3 separate regions of the Homo sapiens genome follow, and all the other regions are linked to region 1. The links are contacts of gene promoters, found by promoter capture Hi-C in blood cells and fetal thymus (Javierre and others, 2016). All regions are on one chromosome and are shown on one strand. Each heading gives the region's core, a stretch centred on a gene start or on the middle of the fragment in contact. The rest is flanking DNA. Distances are from core to core; before and after follow the strand shown. Region 1 holds the start of ABCA9 (ATP binding cassette subfamily A member 9). Region 2 overlaps ABCA5 (ATP binding cassette subfamily A member 5). Region 3 overlaps ABCA10 (ATP binding cassette subfamily A member 10).

What was found. The method cuts DNA at HindIII sites, captures the fragments that hold promoters and counts their contacts. A CHiCAGO score of 5 or more calls a contact.
Region 2: a fragment that was not itself captured here is called in contact with the fragment with the promoter of ABCA9 in region 1 in 1 of 17 cell types (M2 macrophages); the score reaches 5.2 in M2 macrophages.
Region 3: a contact is called between a fragment that was not itself captured here and the fragment with the promoter of ABCA9 in region 1, in 1 of 17 cell types (M2 macrophages). The highest score is 5.0, in M2 macrophages.

Annotation. Positions count from the first base shown.
Region 1 is chr17:69,059,222-69,063,000 of GRCh38, forward strand. ABCA9 (ATP binding cassette subfamily A member 9) reads right to left here and starts at 1,706. Exons shown (of 39, transcript NM_080283.4): 1 at 1,645-1,706. LOC124904051 (a long non-coding RNA gene) reads left to right here. Exons shown (of 2, transcript XR_007065889.1): 1 at 1-294; 2 at 467-871. The HindIII fragment of the contact is 6,703 bases long and covers 1-3,779 here.
Region 2 is chr17:69,251,628-69,255,406 of GRCh38, forward strand. ABCA5 (ATP binding cassette subfamily A member 5) reads right to left here. Exons shown (of 39, transcript NM_172232.4): 32 at 2,688-2,863; 33 at 2,167-2,242; 34 at 1,946-2,040; 35 at 120-239. Among named protein-coding and RNA genes, the nearest start is that of PRO1804, 19 kb to the left of the region's middle. The HindIII fragment of the contact is 567 bases long and covers 1,783-2,349 here.
Region 3 is chr17:69,201,727-69,205,505 of GRCh38, forward strand. All of the region lies in intron 9 of ABCA10 (ATP binding cassette subfamily A member 10), which reads right to left. Among named protein-coding and RNA genes, the nearest start is that of ABCA10, 25 kb to the right of the region's middle. The HindIII fragment of the contact is 4,673 bases long and covers 1-3,779 here.

The DNA.
Region 1 (3,779 bases), core at 456-2,955:
TGGTCCCGTTCTAATCCTGGAATTTGTGAATATGTTACAGTACATGACAAAGGGGAATTAAGGCAGTAGATGGAATTAAGGTTGCTAATCAGCTGACTTTGAAATAGGGAGATCATCCTGGATTATCTGGGTAGACCCAGTGTAATCACAAGGGTGCTAAAAAGTAAAACAGGGAGGCAGACAAGATCAGAGTGAGGCAGTAGAAGAAGGGTTCATTCTGCTGCTACGGCTTTGAAGATGGAGGAGGAAGACCATGAACCAAAGAATGCAAGAAACCTCTAGAAGCTACACAGGGTAAGAAAACAGATTCTCCCCTACAGCCCCCAGAAAGAGACACAGCCTAGCCAACCCCTTGATGTTAGCCGAGTGAGAACCACATCACACTTCTAACCCCCAGAGCTGTAAGATGATAACTCTGTTTTGTTCTAAACCATTAAGTTTGTGGTCATTTTTTTTTTTTTTACAGCAGCAATAGAAAGTTAACATGGGGGCAGGGTTGGGGGAAGGAGTCCGAGAGCCTGAGGCCTGAGAACAAGACAGGAAGACATTGCTGGACATTTATTTTATGACGTGCCTCATCAGCAGAACAAAGAAGGGCATGGACTTATGTTTAAAAACTGTCCAGAAGTGACCAAAGAAATTCACCAGTGATGCAGATGAGCTCCTAATAATCATGCCATCGGAGCAGGCTGTGATAGCCTGGAAATCCTGCCTGAAACCAAACTGCAACATTTCCAACTAAGAAATCAAGCGGTGATAAACCTCAGTATCTGAAAGGGTTAAATATTGTGCCCACGTGACTACTGTTCTTTCTTTCTGTGAATTAATGTGTGTGCCAGAAAATATTTGTGAATAAAAAACAATTACATAATCTCATTGTCATGAATGTGGTTATTTATCTCTGAGCGTTAAGACTGATTTTTCCCCCCACTGAACATCTTAGTGTAAATATCAGAGAAAAAATATACTACCCACCGTAATAATATAAAACATCTAATTAGCTTAAATTGTTCTGAATAGGAAATTGTATAATTTAGAAATAATAAATTGGTTATAAAAAGCCAATCATTTCCCAGTCAGATAAAATTCCTGTTATTCACAGAACAAATTTTTCTAATTTGTTGCACTGGGCAACAAATTAGATCAAAATTTTAAAATAGTTACTATAATAAACAAGATCAATAAAAATCTTTCCTTAAGTTTTCTTGATGAAAATATTCTCAAGCCATTTAAAAACAATTCAAAACTCAGAAAATTATGCATCCTGCAATGCTTACAATTCCTCTGGCAGTAAAATTAAAAACAAACAAAGAAGAGTAAGTAATTCAAATAAATTTGGAAATAGTTCATACTTGTAAAGAAGCAACATAACGTGACATTTCTTTTGATTTATTCAATAGCCTATTAGATAATGTATGCTATTTGTCCAAAAATGTTTTAGTTACGGGGTAAAAATTTAAATTCTTAGTTCTTCATTTGGTTATTTAGACATACAAAATAAAATAGATGATTTAAAAAGTCAAAATGACTCGTTAATAACTTACTGCTTTTAATGGTTTCTACCTAAACGTCTGGCATGCCTATTTATAGTCTTATGTTATATTTCTATATGCAAAATAACCACAATTTTAGAGGTTAACTTACTCTCAGGAAAGCTGGAGGAAAAATCTAGAAACACAGTTCATCCATGGGTCTCTGCATGTTCTGGAGGAGAATTCACATTCCTTTTGGGTCACTACTACATCATGCTTTTAATTTCACATTCATTGTGAATAGTTCTGTTTTATACAAATTTCCCAGGAGAATCTGGTCTCAGTTCAGCTAGCCTGCCAAAATATCTTCTGCTCACGTGGTGATTTCTTTGCTGTTTTCCATTTCTTTGTTTCCTGCTAGTTACTCAGCAGGGAGTTTGTAGTTGCAGATGGTTGGCTGGACATATCAAAACATTAGGAACTATCAAACCAAGGAGAATCTAGCCTTTCTCAATCGGTCTTTTCATACAAGGCCCTAATGGGAGAGTTGACCCCAACACAATGATTTAAACAAAGATAAGTAAGAAGCCAATCCAGAGAAGAGTAGAGCAGAACAAAGTGAAAAATACATAAATATATATGTTATATATATATATATTTTAAGTGACAAGTAAATACATACAAATTGGGTTAGAAACTATTTAAAACCTTCAACAGATTCTTAAAACTTGAATCCAGAAATACGGCAATAAAGCAATGTAATTTTCTTCAGGGTAACAAAAGAAACTCTGAGTTTCCATCTGCATCTCAGTTTCATTGTGTGCATACTAATTGTAGCATCTTTCATCTTTCATGGTACTGAAGCGAGCAGAATCTTTAGAGAAATCTCACATAACAATTACCTGTGCTCTCAAAGCCTCCAGGCTTGTCATCTCTGCAACGGTTCCCATGAAACAAACTACTTTCTCCACCAGTAACTACTGAATTTTAGTATGTCCTGCTTTCCAGTATTGTTAGAGAAACATTTTTAACTGGTAATAGATGCCATTCTGTCTATTTTTGAGCATCTTATGTAAGTAGAAGAAAAGACTGTTCCAAAATTCTTATAATTCATGGAGTTCATCTTTGGCTGAAGAAGAGGGGGGAAAGGACCACTATCATTCTGCTTACAGCCAGTAAGTCTGTTAAATTCTTCAGTACTGTAATTTCTTCCTGAACATACAGCTGAAAGGGAAACAATAAATGCATGCAATTCTTAAATCAGCCTCTTATCTGTGTCTCATGGACCATGATAACCAAATGAAATCTTCCTTACCCATTTCCCATTCTCTCAATATTGATTCAATTATATTTATCCTTTTTCTAATTATATGCGATCCAGAAGTTGCTCAGCAAGCAGTCTGTGGAAGTAGGCTGAACTCCTGAATCCATGAGACTGTCAAACTTAAAAAAAAAAAAAAAGACTTCTGATTGTTTCCATATGTCTACAGAAAAGGTTATAGGTTGGTTGATTTTCTGCAGAAAATACAAAATTATCACATTCAATACATTTAATAACATCGCCAACATTTTGTGCACAGAGAATATAATTTAGGAAATTTTTTTTCAGTAACTTGTTTCCTAGAAGAACTTTGTACCTAGGTTAGAGCTTATGAGTTCTGGACCTAGTTGATTTTGACTTTCGGTTCTAAATTCTGTTTTCAATGTTTCCTTCAGTGTACCACACTGTAATCTCTGTGGCACTATAACAGAGCAAGCTCCCTCTCATTGATCTTCTTTTTAATATTTTCTAGATTAAACAATATTTAATATTTATTTATTTATTTATTTATTTTGAGACGGAGTTTCCCTCTGTCACCCAGGCTGGAGTGCAGTGGCACAATCTCGGCTCAATGGAACCTCTGCCTCCCAGGTTCAAGCGATTCTCCTGCCTCAGCCTCCACAGTAGCTGGGACTACAGGCACCTGCCACCACGGCCAGCTAATTTTTGTGTGTTTTTAGTAGAGAAGGGGTTTCACCATTTTGGTCAAGCTGGTCTGGAACTCCTGACCTCAAATGATGCACCCACCTTGGCCCCACAAAGTGCTGGGATTACAGGCAGAAGCCACTGCGCCCGACGTATTTACTCTTATAAAGAAGTTTTTGAATCAGTTTACCAATTCAAAAACAATCCCATGGGAGTTCAAAAATGAAATGACACTGATTTTATACCATAATGTACACTTTTTTTGGCAACTACATATAGCATTTATTGTGTCTAAGACATACTTAAATATTAAAACATTTAATCCACAGAATAATCCCATG
Region 2 (3,779 bases), core at 816-3,315, 190 kb after region 1:
TCAAAAACTAAAATATTTAACATTTAAATTACTAACTATTGCCATGTTTTTGAAATGATGACTTTCAAAATCCAACCCCCAACCTCTTCCCCTGAATGGCACGCTATTTAGACATCAACCTTAACTGCCCAGACACCATGATAGCTACTCGATCACAGACAGCCTCTGCCTCCTCCATATAGTGAGTGGTCAGAATAGCAGCCCGCTTTCTGTTTTTAAATGCAGTTCGAATTGCTCGCCTATAAAACATAAATAAAACAAAAAGAGAGGAACACATCTGTTTGTTAAAAAAAAATGGGTTTTTAAAAATCCAACCGGTTGGTTAATTAAGTTAATTAAAACTTACCAAATATCAATTGCTATGGCTATTACATCCTGCCCAACTATGATTTTTTTTTTTTTGAGACGGAGTCTCGCTCTGTCCCCCAGGCTGGAGAGAAGTGGCCCGATCTCGGCTCACTGCAAGCTCCACCTCCCAGGTTCACACCATTCTCCTACCTCAGCCTCCTGAGTAGCTGGGACTACAGGTGCCTGCCACCACACCCGGCTAATTTTTTTTTGTATTTTTAATAGAGACGGGGTTTCACCGTGTTAGCCAGGATGGTCTCGATCTCCTGACCTCGTGGTCTGCTGCCTCAGCCTCCCAAAGTGCTGGGATTACAGGCGTGAGCCACTGCGCCAGGCCATGACTTTTATATTCTAATTTATTTTCCCTTCATTTTGAAAGCTTGTCAAATGGAAAAAAAAAATCTATGATTTCAAATGTTAATATGGGCTAAAAGTATGACAACAAATAAATTTTAAAATTGATGCCTTTTCATGTTATAACCAAAACAGGCTTTGAATCATAAGAAAACCGTAACATGCATCCAAACCAAACCTTACATTTTATAGACATGGAAGTTGAGGCTTAAAGAGTTGTTCAAGGCCAGGCACTGTGCCTCACACCTGTAATCCCAGCAGTTTGGGAGGCCGAAGGGGGCGGATCACCTGAGGTCTGGAGTTCGGGACCAGCCTGGCCAACATGGTGAAACCCTGTCTCTACCAAAAATACAAAAAATTAGCCGGGCTTGGTGGCTCTTGCCTGTAGTCCCAGGTACTTGGAAGGCTGAGGCAGGAGAATCGCTTCAGCCTGGGAAGCAGAGGTTGCAGTAAGCCAAGACGGCACCACTGCACTCCAGCTTGGTCAACAGAACAAGACTCTGACTCAAAAAAAAAAAAAAAAAAAGAGTTGTTCAACTAATTAGTACTTTACAGGCACTGCATAATGACATTTCAGTCAATGATGAAACACATTTCCAACAGTGATTCCATAAGATTATAATACTTTTATAATGTATCTTTTCTGTGTTTAGATACATCTAGATACACAAATACCATTGTGTTACAACTGCCTACAGTATTCAGTGCAGTGACATGCTCTACAGATTTATAGCCTAGGAGTAATAGGCTATACCATATAGTCTAGGTGTGTAGTAGGCTATAACCACCCAGAGATTTATATAAGTACACTCTATTATGTTTGCACAACGACAACATCACCTTTCTCAGAATGTATCTCTGTCATTAGGCAATGCATGACTGTCCTAGAAAGAGTCTCAACATAAATTTAAGACACTATTATTATGGAAAAGATCATTTGTATGCTAAATGACTAGAAAAAAACTTAAAAACTATTCAGAACACTAGAACTCTTTATCTTAATAATGACTCATGCTTATTTCTGTTTCGGAATATGTAAAATATTATGAACACTTCATGAAAAATATGCAAAGTTTTAAAAGCTTAAGGAAATCTCTAAATCTATTTAATTTTTAATTACTAGTGTATCGTTTGAATAGGATTTAAAATCAAGATGTACATATAACTAACATTAAACTATTATAATAAAAGAAACTGTTCTATTCTAAAGTATCATGTACTGTGTCACAAGTACCATACTCACCACATGTGCTGTTTGGCTTTGGGATCCATACCTGTAGATGGTTCATCTAGCAAAGTAATCTGAGGATTCCCTAGCATACTTAGAGCAAAACACAACTACATGGAAAGAAAAAGATGGGTGGGAAATTAACAAAGGTTCACTATAAGGAATCTATCAAGACAATATCAGGTACTAAACTATCAATAAAAATACAGGCATTATTTGGTGTTTAATGAAAGTACCTTTCGTTTGATTCCTGCAGGTAGTTTCTTTACAGTCTTCTGAAGATGTTCTTTTAAATCAAGTGCATGTGTTATTCTGCAAAATGAACAATACAAAATGAGAATACCATGATATATATAAACACAAATACCAACTGGGTGTGATCCCTGATGTTGTTTTCTCTAGAATAGTTACTTAGTCGAAGCTTATTATAAGTAGGTAAGGGCAAAAGTCTCCAATTTACATCATTTTAAATAAATTAATATCTTGATAAAATGGTTCACTTTGAATTAAAATAAGTTTCATGATATCTATAGGTATATTTATCCTGTAACTAGAAATTAAAAAATGACCTTTTTATAACTATCATAATTTACAGCTATCAGTATATTTTCATATATCATAAAGAATATATGAAAAAGTAATAAACATTTTCTATAAAAATCATTGTCCACAGAAATGCTTGTTATGAAATTTTAAAAATATGAAATGCAAACCTTTCCTCTAAGTAACAAAAGGAATCTAAAGACAATTATTTTACCGACTTATGACTTCTTTCATGTCACTTGCACTCATTCCTTTGACAGCTCCATAAATTTCAAAATGTTCCTGCAATGTAGTATCTGGCCACAAAGGGTTTATCTGAGGACAGTAACCCATACACTTCAGTGAATCATCATCTTCACTTGTCTCTGAAGAATAATCTCCTAAAAATACCTATAGAAACACAAACCAATTTTTATTATTTTGCTTAATTTACACTGTGAAGGAAGTGGCAAGTACATTAATTAAAACCCCTTCCTACAGCCAGACTAATATCAAGTCAGATTTGTACTCCTTTATTGTCATTATTATTATTATCACTAAGTAACTGAGACTACAAACATGTGCCACCATGCCTGGCTATTGCTTTTTTCTTTTTTGAATTTTAGGAGGGAAGATGTCTCACTACGTTGCCCAGGCTAGTCTTGAATTCCTGAGCTCAAGTGATCCTCCTGCCTCAGCCTCCCAAAGTGCTGGGATTACAGGAATGAGCCACTGCACCCGCCCAGATGTTTTACTCCTTTTTGATGTTTGATGATGGAAGGACATATAAAGCTAAGTCAGAGTTCAGAGACTTGGTCAGAAAGGGTAATACAGAGTTGGATGAAAAAGCAAGATGTAATTCTAATGATCAGGGAGCTTCACTGGAAGGTGACATTTGAGCCAAAGAGGTAAGTGAATTTAGTATATGTATTTCTAGGGTATAAGGTATAGCCAAACAAAGAAAACATCTTGGGCAAAAACCCAAAGAAAAGAGTATGCCTGGCATTTTCCAGGAAAGCAATGAGTTAGTGTGGCTGGCATAAAGTAAGCAAGGGGAGAGAAGCAGGAAATGGGATCAGGGTAGTTTTGTGAAGTATCCACAAAGTGGTCAGTGACATGCTTATAATAAAAGACTAGCTGATGGCAGGTCAAAACAAGCTCCCATATCTCCTGAAGCTAATAAAACTGTCTTCCATTAAGTTGGTAGACAAATAACTCACGCATGTAAGCATTACAAAAGCAGAAATACTGTATATGCGTGTGTCTACATGTGTCTATGAAAATTTCACCATGCACATTATTTTTACAGATAACCCAAAAGATCATA
Region 3 (3,779 bases), core at 815-3,314, 140 kb after region 1:
ACATCTGTCCTTTACTTGATATCAATTTTGAACTTAAGTTATTTATCTTGGGCATTTATATTTATAATTTTTTTTTTTGAGACAGTCACGCTCTGTTGCCCAGGCAGGAGTGCAATGGCACGATCCTGGCTCACCGCAACCTCCGCCTCCCAGGTTCAAGCGATCTCTCCTGCCTCAGCTTCCCAAGTAGCTATTACAGGCACCTGCCACCACGCCCGGCTAACTTTTGTATTTTTATTAGAGACAGGGTTTCACCATGCTGGCCAGGCTGGTCTCGAACTCCCAACCTCAGGCGATCCGCCCACCTCGGCCTCCCAAAGTGCTGGGATTACAGGCGTGAGCCACCGTGCCCGGCTATAATGTTAAAAATAAAGCATTACAGGTGCATTAAAGTTAAGACAGTGCTGTGGCTTTCGATAAGTTATCAGCTATGATTGACAAAAATAAAAGAGCTCATGAAAGGGAATACAGTTCTAGCTGTAGGGAATCATATCAAACATCAAGAACTTCACTTTTTGGATTTCCAGACATTTGGATGCTAAAAAAAGGGATGTGTAAGCTGATCCTGCCATAGCATATGAAGATATATTATTTTGATAATATAGAAAAAAACAAATATTGAAAATAGTGAGTATATAATTCACTGTAAAATAAAAGAGAACTTTTTTCCAAGTCCTAAGAATACAACAAAAGCACAAAAATGAACATATTAAGAATGTTAAGGTAGACGTAAGGCTGGACAACTGTTGTCAAATAGGAAAAGGACATAGAAAGGAAGAAAATTAAAATTAAAGGATCAGATGTAGGAAGCATGGGAAATTTTTTTAATTCATTAGAAAAATTAAATAAGCACAGATTAAATTGTTTCTGCCACAAGTCTTCTCATGTTTTATTTTATATAAATTTTTTTCAACCAAATACATAGATAATTCTTTAACGTTTTATGATCTGGAATTATACAGGGATCTTTATCAAGAGATAGTTCATTTCATTCTCAGGTAGAAGGGGCTCTATGTATAATCAATTAAAAATGGCTTGACAGTTAAATGGACATATCTATTAGAGTAGAGAATACAAGTGCAGATCTAAAGAAGGAAAGAAAATAAATGAGATGGTGTTTTAATGATATATCCACAAAATAGGAATTTATTGGTGGTAAGAGGAGGAAATTTAAAAGATTTTTCAGAAACTGTAGGATAATTAAAACAATACAGAATTTTCACATGTAATATTTCACTGCAAGCTGTTACTGAAAGCTAATATAATGTAGGGGGATGGAGCTGAGCAAAAGAAGAGCTAAGGAAGAAGAGACACAACATATAAACTTCTTGATGTATGAAAGCAAAAGATGTTGATGACATGTAGAAAAATATATGGGAAAGAATGGAAAAGTTATAGATAGAAATTCTTTGACAAGAGAAATGTAAATAGTATTGCAGTTTTAGAGATATTATGTGGGAGAGAAGAAATGTTCAAAGATGAAAATATGTAAACAGATCTAGAGTTGAACTAGCCAAAAAGAGAAATTACACTATGAAAAAACAAAGAAAAAATTTTAGAAGGGGAAACAAATTAAAATTCAAAAATGAATTCATTTTATTCATAGAAATTATAGTATTTTTAAAAACATATCAAAAATCAAACTAATGTTTTATATTCTTGTTTTGCTACTACTGTAGTTATTGCCTGTCCTGGTCAGTGCCTCACCCCTAGTAGCCAAAGCCGGAAACCAGTGAGCCATCCTCATCTCTTTTCCCTCTCACTTCCCCCAACTTCTACATAATTAACCACCAAATCAAATTTCTATTTCCTAAGAACCTCGTGAATCTGTTCTCCCCTCTGCATTACAATGACATCTTAATTTGATCCTCTCAAACAGATTAGTATCCACCTGCTTTGAGCCCATTCTTCATGCAGCTGCCAGAGAGAGCTTCCTAAAAGGCAAATCTCACCAGTGAAAGAGCCTACATACACTACTACTTCAGTCTGTCTCCATTTTTTGCACCAGTCGTTCTAATGCTTTTGGATTTTTTGTACAAACGATAGTTCAAGAAACAAATATGTTGTGTTAAGGATAGTTTAAAAGCCTATCTGCTATGCTATAACCATCACTGCAAAAATAAAATGATATTTTTACTACAAAATACAGATAGAGAAAAGCTATGATCTCACAATAGAGAAGACAATTTCAAATTGAAGAATTAAGGTATATAAATAAATTTCACATTCTTTCTCTTATCTGACAAGGTGAAAATTTTGTCACAGATCATCACCAATACTTGAGTTGCCCAAGAGGACACAATCCAAAATTCTGTACATTCCCTATCAAGTGAAAATTATCACCAGGCACCTATAGAGGGGCTTAATTGGAGACAAGCCTCAGAATCTCAGGGATCTTTACATGCTATATTGTCCTGTGCCATGTACATTTGGAAAAATCTCCCGGTAATTATTGTAAACTGGTTAATAATTTCTACATCACAGACTCCTACTATGCACCAGCTCTGCCAAACAATTTTTAATTTCCCTTATGATATACTATTTCACGTTGCTGGGCATACATGCTGGTGACTATATGGCTGGATAACTGTTGTCAAATAGGAAAGGATATAGAAAGGAAGAAAATTAAAATGTGTTGCTGGGCATACATGCTGTTGACAATATGGCTGTGGACAAAATGTGTTTTCAAGACTCTTTAAGATGATTTGTTTTTAAGACTCTTCTCCACAAGATAAACTTACCTATCCTCTAAATGCAATTTGAGGTGTTTCCTCCATGCCTTTTCTAATTTGACAACCCTAGAACTTACCCTCTCATGGAACCTTGTGGTATCCTCTTATTATACTTCTTACACTACATTTAACTACCAATTTACATAAGTATTTCCAATGCTAACTGCAAAAGCCTTGAAGACTCAGACTGTTTAACCCATCATAGGCTTCAATAAGCAGTTACATTTTAAATGGATAAGTAGATTAAACCTGATGTCTAATTGGTACAGATACCATTAGCAATTCTTGGCTTGTTTTGGTTCAGTAAAAGAATTATAAGTGTAAAAACATTTACATATAATCTGGTCTAAAAATAAAGATTTGAAAGATGCTTATAAAAATTTAGATTGACCAGGCACAGTGGCTCACACCTGAAATCCCAGCACTTTGGGAGACCAAGACAGCTAAATGGCTTGAGGCCAGGAGTTTGAGACCAGCCTGGATAACATGGCAAAACCCCGTATCTACAAAATTACCAAAATTAGCTGGGTGTGGTGGTGTATGCTGGTAGTTCCAGCTACTGGGGAGGCTGAGGTGGGAGGATTGCTTGAGTCTGGGAGGCAGAGGTTGCAGTGAGCTGAGATTGTACCACTGCACTCCAGCCTGGGTGACACAGTGAGACCCTGTCTCAAAAAAATAAATAAATAAATTAGATTTAAAAATACGTATTATACCCAAATAAAGGTAAGTGAAATTTAATCAAATGTAAGGACTTTAAAAAAGAATTTTAATTTGAAGCTGAGAGAGAAAAAGAGTTCATTCTTGCCTTACTTCATCAAATATTTATTGAGAGCCTCCTATACACAACGTAGCCTCTAGATGGAAAAACACACTTTGTTCATCCTGAATAAAGTTCAAATGGAAAGGCACATATATGCATTTATTTAATTTGCTGGGAATTTATTGAGCATCTACTAGGTGCCAAACACTGTTGTGATGCATCAGTGTCATAAAAAGCAAATATCTCTTCCCTTGTGGGGATCTACATTCTAGGGAAACAAAACAGAA